2 separate regions of the Homo sapiens genome follow, and region 1 is linked to region 2. The links are contacts of gene promoters, found by promoter capture Hi-C in blood cells and fetal thymus (Javierre and others, 2016). All regions are on one chromosome and are shown on one strand. Each heading gives the region's core, a stretch centred on a gene start or on the middle of the fragment in contact. The rest is flanking DNA. Distances are from core to core; before and after follow the strand shown.

Region 1 (4,384 bases), core at 259-2,758, 100 kb after region 2:
ACCGAAAAGGAAATGACCAATTGCCTGAGTTTCCGAAATGGCAGAGGACTGGCCCTGCTGTGCGCGCTCCTGGGGACGCTGTGCGAAACAGGATCCGGTCAGATCCGCTACTCGGTGTCTGAGGAGCTAGATAAAGGTTCCTTCGTGGGCAACATCGCTAACGACCTGGGGCTAGAGCCCCGGGAGCTGGCGGAGCGCGGAGTCCGCATCGTCTCCAGAGGTAGGACGCAGCTTTTCTCTCTGAATCCGCAAAGCGGCAGCTTGGTCACCGCGGAGAGGATAGACCGGGAGGAGCTCTGCGCTCAGATCCCGCTGTGTCTGGTAAAAATTAACATTCTGGTTGAGGATAAATTGAAAATTTTTGAAGTAGAAATAGAAATTAAAGATATTAATGATAATGCTCCTAATTTCCCAACAGAGGAATTGGAAATAAAAATTGGTGAACTAACGGTTCCTGGAACCCGATTTCCAATTAAAACTGCTTTTGACCCAGATGTAGGCATTAACTCCCTGCAGAACTACAAGCTTAGCCCCAATGACTACTTCTCTCTGGCTGTGAATAGCGTCTCTGAGGGGGCCAAGTATCCAGAGCTGGTGCTGGAGCGGGCCCTGGACCGTGAGAAAAAAGAAATTCACCAGCTTGTCCTGGTTGCCTCTGATGGTGGCGACCCTGTCCACTCTGGCAACTTGCACATCCAAGTGATAGTCCTGGATGCAAATGACAACCCACCAATGTTTACTCAGCCTGAGTACCGTGTGAGTGTTTGGGAGAACGTGCCTGTGGGTACCCGGCTGCTCACGGTGAATGCCACTGACCCTGACGAGGGATTCAATGCTCAAGTGTCTTATATTCTAGATAAAATGCCTGGGAAAATCGCTGAGATTTTCCATCTTAACTCAGTGAGTGGAGAAGTATCAATATTAAAAAGTCTAGATTATGAGGATGCCATGTTCTATGAAATTAAAATTGAAGCACAGGATGGACCAGGTCTTCTTTCAAGAGCCAAGATTCTAGTCACGGTTCTGGATGTGAATGACAATGCTCCAGAAATTACAATCACGTCTCTCACAAGCTCAGTCCCAGAAGAGGGCACCGTTGGAAGAGAAATTGCTCTTATCGACGTGCATGACCGAGATTCTGGGCAGAATGGGCAGGTTGAAGTTTTTGTCCTGGGAAATCTGCCATTTAAGTTAGAAAAATCAATAGATCAATATTACCGCTTAGTGACGGCCACATCCCTGGACCGCGAACAAATATCAGAATATAACATTAGTCTGAGAGCCTCAGATGGGGGAAGCCCGCCACTGTCCACAGAAACTCACATCACCCTGCATGTGATTGACATCAATGACAACCCACCCACCTTCCCTCATTTATCCTACTCCGCCTACATTCCAGAAAACAACCCCAGAGGAGCCTCCATCTTCTCAGTGACAGCCCAGGACCCAGATAGCAACAACAACGCCCGCATCACTTATGCATTGACCGAGGACACTCTCCAGGGGGCGCCCCTGTCCTCCTTCGTCTCTATCAACTCCAACACTGGCGTCCTATACGCGCTGAGATCCTTCGACTACGAGCAATTTAGAGACTTAAAGCTACTGGTGACAGCCAGCGACAGCGGGAACCCTCCACTCAGCAGCAACGTGTCGCTGAACCTGTTCGTGCTGGACCAGAACGACAACGCGCCCGAGATCCTGTACCCCGCCCTCCCCACAGACGGTTCCACTGGCGTGGAGCTGGCGCCTCGCTCCGCAGAGCCCGGCTACCTGGTGACCAAGGTGGTGGCGGTGGACAGAGACTCGGGCCAGAACGCCTGGCTGTCCTACCGCCTGCTCAAGGCCAGCGAGCCGGGACTCTTCTCGGTGGGTCTGCACACGGGCGAGGTGCGCACGGCGCGAGCCCTGCTGGACAGAGACGCGCTCAAGCAGAGCCTCGTGGTGGCCGTCCAGGACCACGGCCAGCCCCCTCTCTCCGCCACTGTCACGCTCACCGTGGCCGTGGCCGACAGGATCCCCGACATCCTGGCCGACCTGGGCAGCCTCGAGCCCTCCGCCAAACCCAACGATTCGGACCTCACTCTGTACCTGGTGGTGGCGGTGGCCGCGGTCTCCTGCGTCTTCCTGGCCTTCGTCATCGTGCTGCTGGCGCTCAGGCTGCGGCGCTGGCACAAGTCACGCCTGCTGCAGGCTTCGGGAGGCGGCTTGGCGAGTACGCCCGGCTCGCACTTTGTGGGCGCGGACGGGGTTCGGGCTTTCCTGCAGACCTATTCCCACGAGGTCTCCCTCACTGCGGACTCGCGGAAGAGCCACCTGATTTTCCCCCAGCCCAACTATGCGGACACGCTCATCAGCCAGGAGAGCTGTGAGAAAAGCGAGCCTCTTCTGATAACTCAGGATTTACTTGAAATGAAAGGAGATTCCAACCTACTTCAGGTGAGTTTATTTATTTCTTTGATTATTAAGAACAAATATGAGAATGTGGTTATTATAAAGCTTTAACACATATGTATTTGAGAAATAAAGCCATGAGGTTGTCATTAGTCCTTTGACTAAATATTTGTCCCCCTTTCTTTCTGGGCCTATAGTAGGACTGCACTCCCCGGTCTGGTTATGGTTGAGTGGGCTTAGGGAAAAAATAATACATCGTGAGTGAAAGTAAAGTGTCACTTCCTAGAGGAATCTGCCACTGTGAGAATTTTCAGATCTCTAAGTTACTATTTGAAATTGTGACTGCTCCTTCTACCTGGGTCCTTGAGTAACTATGATGAGAGAAACACAACACTGGTTTGTATACCTGTGATAAATAGGCCTTTTTCATTTTAAATCCCTGTGCTTTGGAGTTTGTCATTCCAACCTGTATAGCTTATCCTGATACATACAAGTAAAAATACATATGAATAAAAGATATTTTATGCCCATGAAATTAAATGATGTTTGACTCCTTCCAAGACAGGTGACACTCTTTTTTTCTTTCTCCTTCCTTCCTTCCTCTCTCTTTCCTCCTTCCTTCCTTCCTCTCTCTCTTTCCTCCTTCCTTCCTTCCTTCCTCTCTCTCTTTCCTCCTTCCTTCCTTCCTCTCTCTCTTTCCTCCTTCCTTCCTTCCTCTGTTTCTCTCTTTCTTTCTTTCTTTCTTTCTTTCTTTCTTTCTTTCTTTCTTGACAGGGTCTTACTCTGTCTGGAGTGCAGTGGCATGATCACGGCTCACTGCAGCCTTGACCTCGCAGACTCAAGTGATCCTCCCACCTCAGCCTCCCGAGTAGCTGGGACTACAGGCACGAGCCACCCTCCCAGCTAATTTGTTTTTGTTTTTGTAGAGATGGGGCAATTGCTATGTTTCCCAGGCTGGTCTGAAATTCCTGAGCTCAAGTGATCTGCCCACGTCAGCCTCCCAAAGTACTGCGATTAGAGGCATGAGCCACCATGCCTGGCCTGTTATTCTTTTCATCTCAATAACATAAAAATTGGAGAACAAAAATGTAGAGGCTGGGTGCAGTGGCTCATGCTGTAATCCCAGCACTTTGGGAGGCTGAGGCAGGTGGATCACTTGAAGTCAGGAGTTCAAGAACACCCTGGCCAACATGGTGAAAGCCTGTCTCTACTAAAAATACAAAAATTAGCTGGGCATGGTGGTGGGCGCCTGTAATCCAAGCTACTTGGGAAGCTGAGGCAGAAGAATTGCTTAAACCCAGGAGGCAGAAGTTGCAGAGAGCCAAAATTGGGCCACTGCACTCCAGCTGGGGCAATAGAGAGAGACTCCATCTCAAAAAAAAAAAAAAAGTAGAGGCTGGTCAAATGGTTTTACCTATAGTGCCTGTTACATATGCCTAATGTATATGCTTATGTGTGTATTCATTTTGATTTCAACATTTTGCCTGAGGGTGGAAAGCTCACCTAGCTAAATTATTATGAGCCTTGGAGTGGTATTTCTTGTCCTTGAGAAGGACATCAAAAACATGTAAAGGAATATGTCTCAGCCTCTGCGGGAGATTTCCAGACAATCTCTTCCAACAATGGAATAGAAGTCCCTTCTTTTGTCATGTTCTACAACTTTCTTGAGCCAGAAATTGTTGGCTTATTCTGCAATTTATGAAATTATTTTCACTCATGAAATCATATGAGAGTTATCCAAAATTAGACCAAAATATGTTTTATTAGAACTCAAACAAAAGAATAGATTCCTCCCTCAATATATTAGGAAAAGGCACATTTAAATGTATGAGACAACAGGGCCAGAACACAAAAGCTGTAAGCAGAGTAAGGTGTATTCTCACTGAAACATGGAAATACATCACAGAATTTAAAAGGCCCATAGCCAGGGGAGGACTTCTGAGCCTAGGACTTTGAGACCTACTTGGGCAACATAGCATGACCCTGTCTCAAA
Region 2 (4,649 bases), core at 1,058-3,557:
ACTCGCCTCTGCCTCCCAAAGTGTGGCATTACAGGTGTGAGCCACCTTGCCCGGCCATACGAGCATCTTTAGTGATTATTAGATTATCTCAAGATTTTAAAATCATAGCTCCCTTTTGTAGCGTCTATCTAGCCCACCTGATCTTTTTCTGGAAAATTCTCCCTGTCTTTGGCTGAAGTGTAATGTTGCAGCCACATTTATTTTATATGACCCACCTCCCTCTGTGATTTCAAACACAAAAATAAGATGATCCTAGCTGGCCTAATCTGATTCTCTCTGTTTAAAAAAAAATGGCTTTAAGAACCAGATACAACATAGTCTCTTTGTTAGGAACATAAGCAGAAAGTGGTGTCATATTTGGCTAAACACTTGCAAAGAAATACAGAACATCAATCTATTGAGAGACAAGAAAAAATAAGGTACCAAAAGAATGACCTTGTCATAGATTTTCCTGTTTTAGATTTTCCAGTCCCTCCCAAGTCTTTTTCCCTTAGGTTGCTGGAGACAAATTTGTGCTCTTTAATAAATTTCCCTCTAATTAAGAGATCTAAGTGAGGTTTTTGTTGTCAAAAGCATGTTTAGATATTCCTGCATTGTTGGTAAGTTAGACCTTTCTTCCTATTGGGTTTTTATTGTGGCTTTTCATATTAGTATGACAACATTTGGGATCAAGGAGGTTGTAAAATATTAGTAGTCTATAAGGGACATGCACTAGCTTTTGTCAGAATATACAATTTTGAGAAAAACTGAAGGATCTTTCCAATGGTACAGTCTTTGAAGTGTTTAATAGAAATTCTTAGAACATTTTATTATATAAGAGTTTTGAATATCGTAAGTGTCATAATAACATTACTGTAAAAAAAAAACCTTGACAATGAAAAATGTGTGTCTAAAAGAGACATAATCCTTATCTTTAGGGTCATCATAATCTTGTTATGTTCTTTCTTTCTGTCATATAATATATCCCTTGCTTATGGGTAGCTAAGTTGTTTTGCCACTTAATGAAATGACATTTTAGGTCATTCTGAGTTATTTCACATTACTATTTAAAGGGCATAGGAAATAGCTACCTTATGAACATGTTGTCTTTGTTTATCCATCTTATATAATGAACTTGAATCCCAGAAGAAGAGGGAATTTCTACAGTAGGAGGAGAACCTATCTGTCAGAATGTTTAAATTAATTGTGATTTATTAATGGATCCATTTAACAAATATTTATTGAGCACGTACCATGTGCCAGGGATTATTTTAGATATTGGGGATGCAGCAGTGAACAAAATGAAGTTCTAACATGTGAGGTTGAAACAGAAAGGAAACAACTAAATAAGTACATCTATACTACGTCAGATAATAAATACGAGAGAGACAAGGCAGGGCTGGGTACAGCAGCTCATGCCTATAACCCCAGCACTTTGGGAGGCTGAGGCAGGAGGATTGCTTGAGCTCGGAAATTTGAGACCAGCCCGGGCAACATAGCAAGACCTCATCTTTACAAATAATTAAAACATTAGCCAGGCATGGTGATGCGCAACTGTGGTCCCAGCTACAGTTGCTGAGGTGGGGGGATTGCTTGAGCCTGGGTAGTCAAGGCTGCAATGAGCAGTGATTGTGCCACTGCACTCCCTCCTGGACAACAGAGCAAGACCCCATCTCAAAAAAAAAAAAAGGAAAAATGAAAAGAAAAAAAAGAAAAAGCAAAGTAAGAGATATAGGAAGTGCCTTCATATGTATTTTTCCACAGTTTAAAATTTTCATAAAATCATAACTCTCTGACTTTATGTAGAAAGGATACCACACTGGAATTAACGTGTAGCTTTTTCTTGATGTAATCCAACCAATGGGAGCACAATTCTGGTACATAGGCTGTCTAGAATTTGAAAGAAATTAAAGAATTCATTTTGTTTTGCTGATAAATTTTTAAGAAATCACGTGGCTTTATGTTATTATTATTACAAGATGACTGATCACTATTATGTCTTCTTTCACTTCTCAATTTCCCTCAGAACACTACACCCAGACTACAGGCTCTGGAGGGTGGGGACCATGTCTGGGTTGTTTACTGATGTATTTCATAATTTGGCACATAGAGACCAATAATACTCCTTTAAATGAAGAAATTAATAATTACCATTGCGTGATATTGTGATTACATCATTTCCTCCCAATTTCCAAACTCCTAATAGAATAGAGAATAGATCAATTGTAGCAATTCGTTTCGAAGCAAAGACAACGCATGGTGGCGCTGCAGGCTAAGGCTTCAAAAAAAGGAAAAGGAAAAAGCCCATGAAATGCTACTAGCTACTTCAGACCTCTTTCAGCCTAAGAGGAAAGCCTGTTAGCAGAGCACGGACCAGTGTCTCCGGAGAATGCTATTCTCCTACATTTCCGAACAGGTTATCAACGCACAGATCGATCACTGCCTCTGTCCCATCGCTCCCTGAAGTAGCTCTGACTCCGGTTCCTTGAAAGGGGCGTGTACAGAAGTAAAGATGGAGCCTGCAGGGGAGCGCTTTCCCGAACAAAGGCAAGTCCTGATTCTCCTTCTTTTACTGGAAGTGACTCTGGCAGGCTGGGAACCCCGTCGCTATTCTGTGATGGAGGAAACAGAGAGAGGTTCTTTTGTAGCCAACCTGGCCAATGACCTAGGGCTGGGAGTGGGGGAGCTAGCCGAGCGGGGAGCCCGGGTAGTTTCTGAGGATAACGAACAAGGCTTGCAGCTTGATCTGCAGACCGGGCAGTTGATATTAAATGAGAAGCTGGACCGGGAGAAGCTGTGTGGCCCTACTGAGCCCTGTATAATGCATTTCCAAGTGTTACTGAAAAAACCTTTGGAAGTATTTCGAGCTGAACTACTAGTGACAGACATAAACGATCATTCTCCTGAGTTTCCTGAAAGAGAAATGACCCTGAAAATCCCAGAAACTAGCTCCCTTGGGACTGTGTTTCCTCTGAAAAAAGCTCGGGACTTGGACGTGGGCAGCAATAATGTTCAAAACTACAATATTTCTCCCAATTCTCATTTCCATGTTTCCACTCGCACCCGAGGGGATGGCAGGAAATACCCAGAGCTGGTGCTGGACACAGAACTGGATCGCGAGGAGCAGGCCGAGCTCAGATTAACCTTGACAGCGGTGGACGGTGGCTCTCCACCCCGATCTGGCACCGTCCAGATCCTCATCTTGGTCTTGGACGCCAATGACAATGCCCCGGAGTTTGTGCAGGCGCTCTACGAGGTGCAGGTCCCAGAGAACAGCCCAGTAGGCTCCCTAGTTGTCAAGGTCTCTGCTAGGGATTTAGACACTGGGACAAATGGAGAGATATCATACTCCCTTTATTACAGCTCTCAGGAGATAGACAAACCTTTTGAGCTAAGCAGCCTTTCAGGAGAAATTCGACTAATTAAAAAACTAGATTTTGAGACAATGTCTTCGTATGATCTAGATATAGAGGCATCTGATGGCGGGGGACTTTCTGGAAAATGCTCTGTCTCTGTTAAGGTGCTGGATGTTAACGATAACTTCCCGGAACTAAGTATTTCATCACTTACCAGCCCTATTCCCGAGAATTCTCCAGAGACAGAAGTGGCCCTGTTTAGGATTAGAGACCGAGACTCTGGGGAAAATGGAAAAATGATTTGCTCAATTCAGGATGATGTTCCTTTTAAGCTAAAACCTTCTGTTGAGAATTTCTACAGGCTGGTAACAGAAGGGGCGCTGGACAGAGAGACCAGAGCCGAGTACAACATCACCATCACCATCACAGACTTGGGGACTCCAAGGCTGAAAACCGAGCAGAGCATAACCGTGCTGGTGTCGGACGTCAATGACAACGCCCCCGCCTTCACCCAAACCTCCTACACCCTGTTCGTCCGCGAGAACAACAGCCCCGCCCTGCACATCGGCAGTGTCAGCGCCACAGACAGAGACTCGGGCACCAACGCCCAGGTCACCTACTCGCTGCTGCCGCCCCGGGACCCGCACCTGCCCCTCACCTCCCTGGTCTCCATTAACACGGACAACGGCCACCTGTTCGCTCTCCAGTCGCTGGACTACGAGGCCCTGCAGGCTTTCGAGTTCCGCGTGGGCGCCACAGACCGCGGCTTCCCGGCGCTGAGCAGCGAGGCGCTGGTGCGAGTGCTGGTGCTGGACGCCAACGACAACTCGCCCTTCGTGCTGTACCCGCTGCAGAACGGCTCCGCGCCCTGCACCGAGCTGGTGCCCCGGGCGGCCGAGCCGGGCTACCTGGTGACCAAGGTGGTGGCGGTGGACGGCGACTCGGGCCAGAACGCCTGGCTGTCGTACCAGCTGCTCAAGGCCACGGAGCCCGGGCTGTTCGGCGTGTGGGCGCACAATGGCGAGGTGCGCACCGCCAGGCTGCTGAGCGAGCGCGACGTGGCCAAGCACAGGCTAGTGGTGCTGGTCAAGGACAATGGCGAGCCTCCGCGCTCGGCCACCGCCACGCTGCAAGTGCTCCTGGTGGACGGCTTCTCTCAGCCCTACCTGCCGCTCCCAGAGGCGGCCCCGGCCCAAGCCCAGGCCGACTCGCTTACCGTCTACCTGGTGGTGGCATTGGCCTCGGTGTCTTCGCTCTTCCTCTTCTCGGTGTTCCTGTTCGTGGCAGTGCGGCTGTGCAGGAGGAGCAGGGCGG

What was found. The method cuts DNA at HindIII sites, captures the fragments that hold promoters and counts their contacts. A CHiCAGO score of 5 or more calls a contact.
Region 1: a contact is called between a fragment that was not itself captured here and the fragment with the promoter of PCDHB15 in region 2, in 1 of 17 cell types (M1 macrophages). The highest score is 5.6, in M1 macrophages.

What each region holds. Positions count from the first base shown.
Region 1 is chr5:141,344,022-141,348,405 of GRCh38, forward strand. All of the region lies in intron 1 of PCDHGA1 (protocadherin gamma subfamily A, 1), which reads left to right. The region is part of intron 1 of PCDHGA2 (protocadherin gamma subfamily A, 2); the gene reads left to right. It overlaps PCDHGA3 (protocadherin gamma subfamily A, 3), which reads left to right. Exons shown (of 4, transcript NM_018916.4): 1 at 1-2,436. The coding sequence starts at 13. It also overlaps PCDHG@. Among named protein-coding and RNA genes, the nearest start is that of PCDHGA3, 2.4 kb to the left of the region's middle. The HindIII fragment of the contact is 1,971 bases long and covers 524-2,494 here.
Region 2 is chr5:141,243,088-141,247,736 of GRCh38, forward strand. PCDHB15 (protocadherin beta 15) reads left to right here and starts at 2,308. Exons shown (of 1, transcript NM_018935.4): 1 at 2,308-4,649. The coding sequence starts at 2,492. It also overlaps PCDHB@ and the pseudogene PCDHB19P. The HindIII fragment of the contact is 5,789 bases long and covers 1-4,649 here.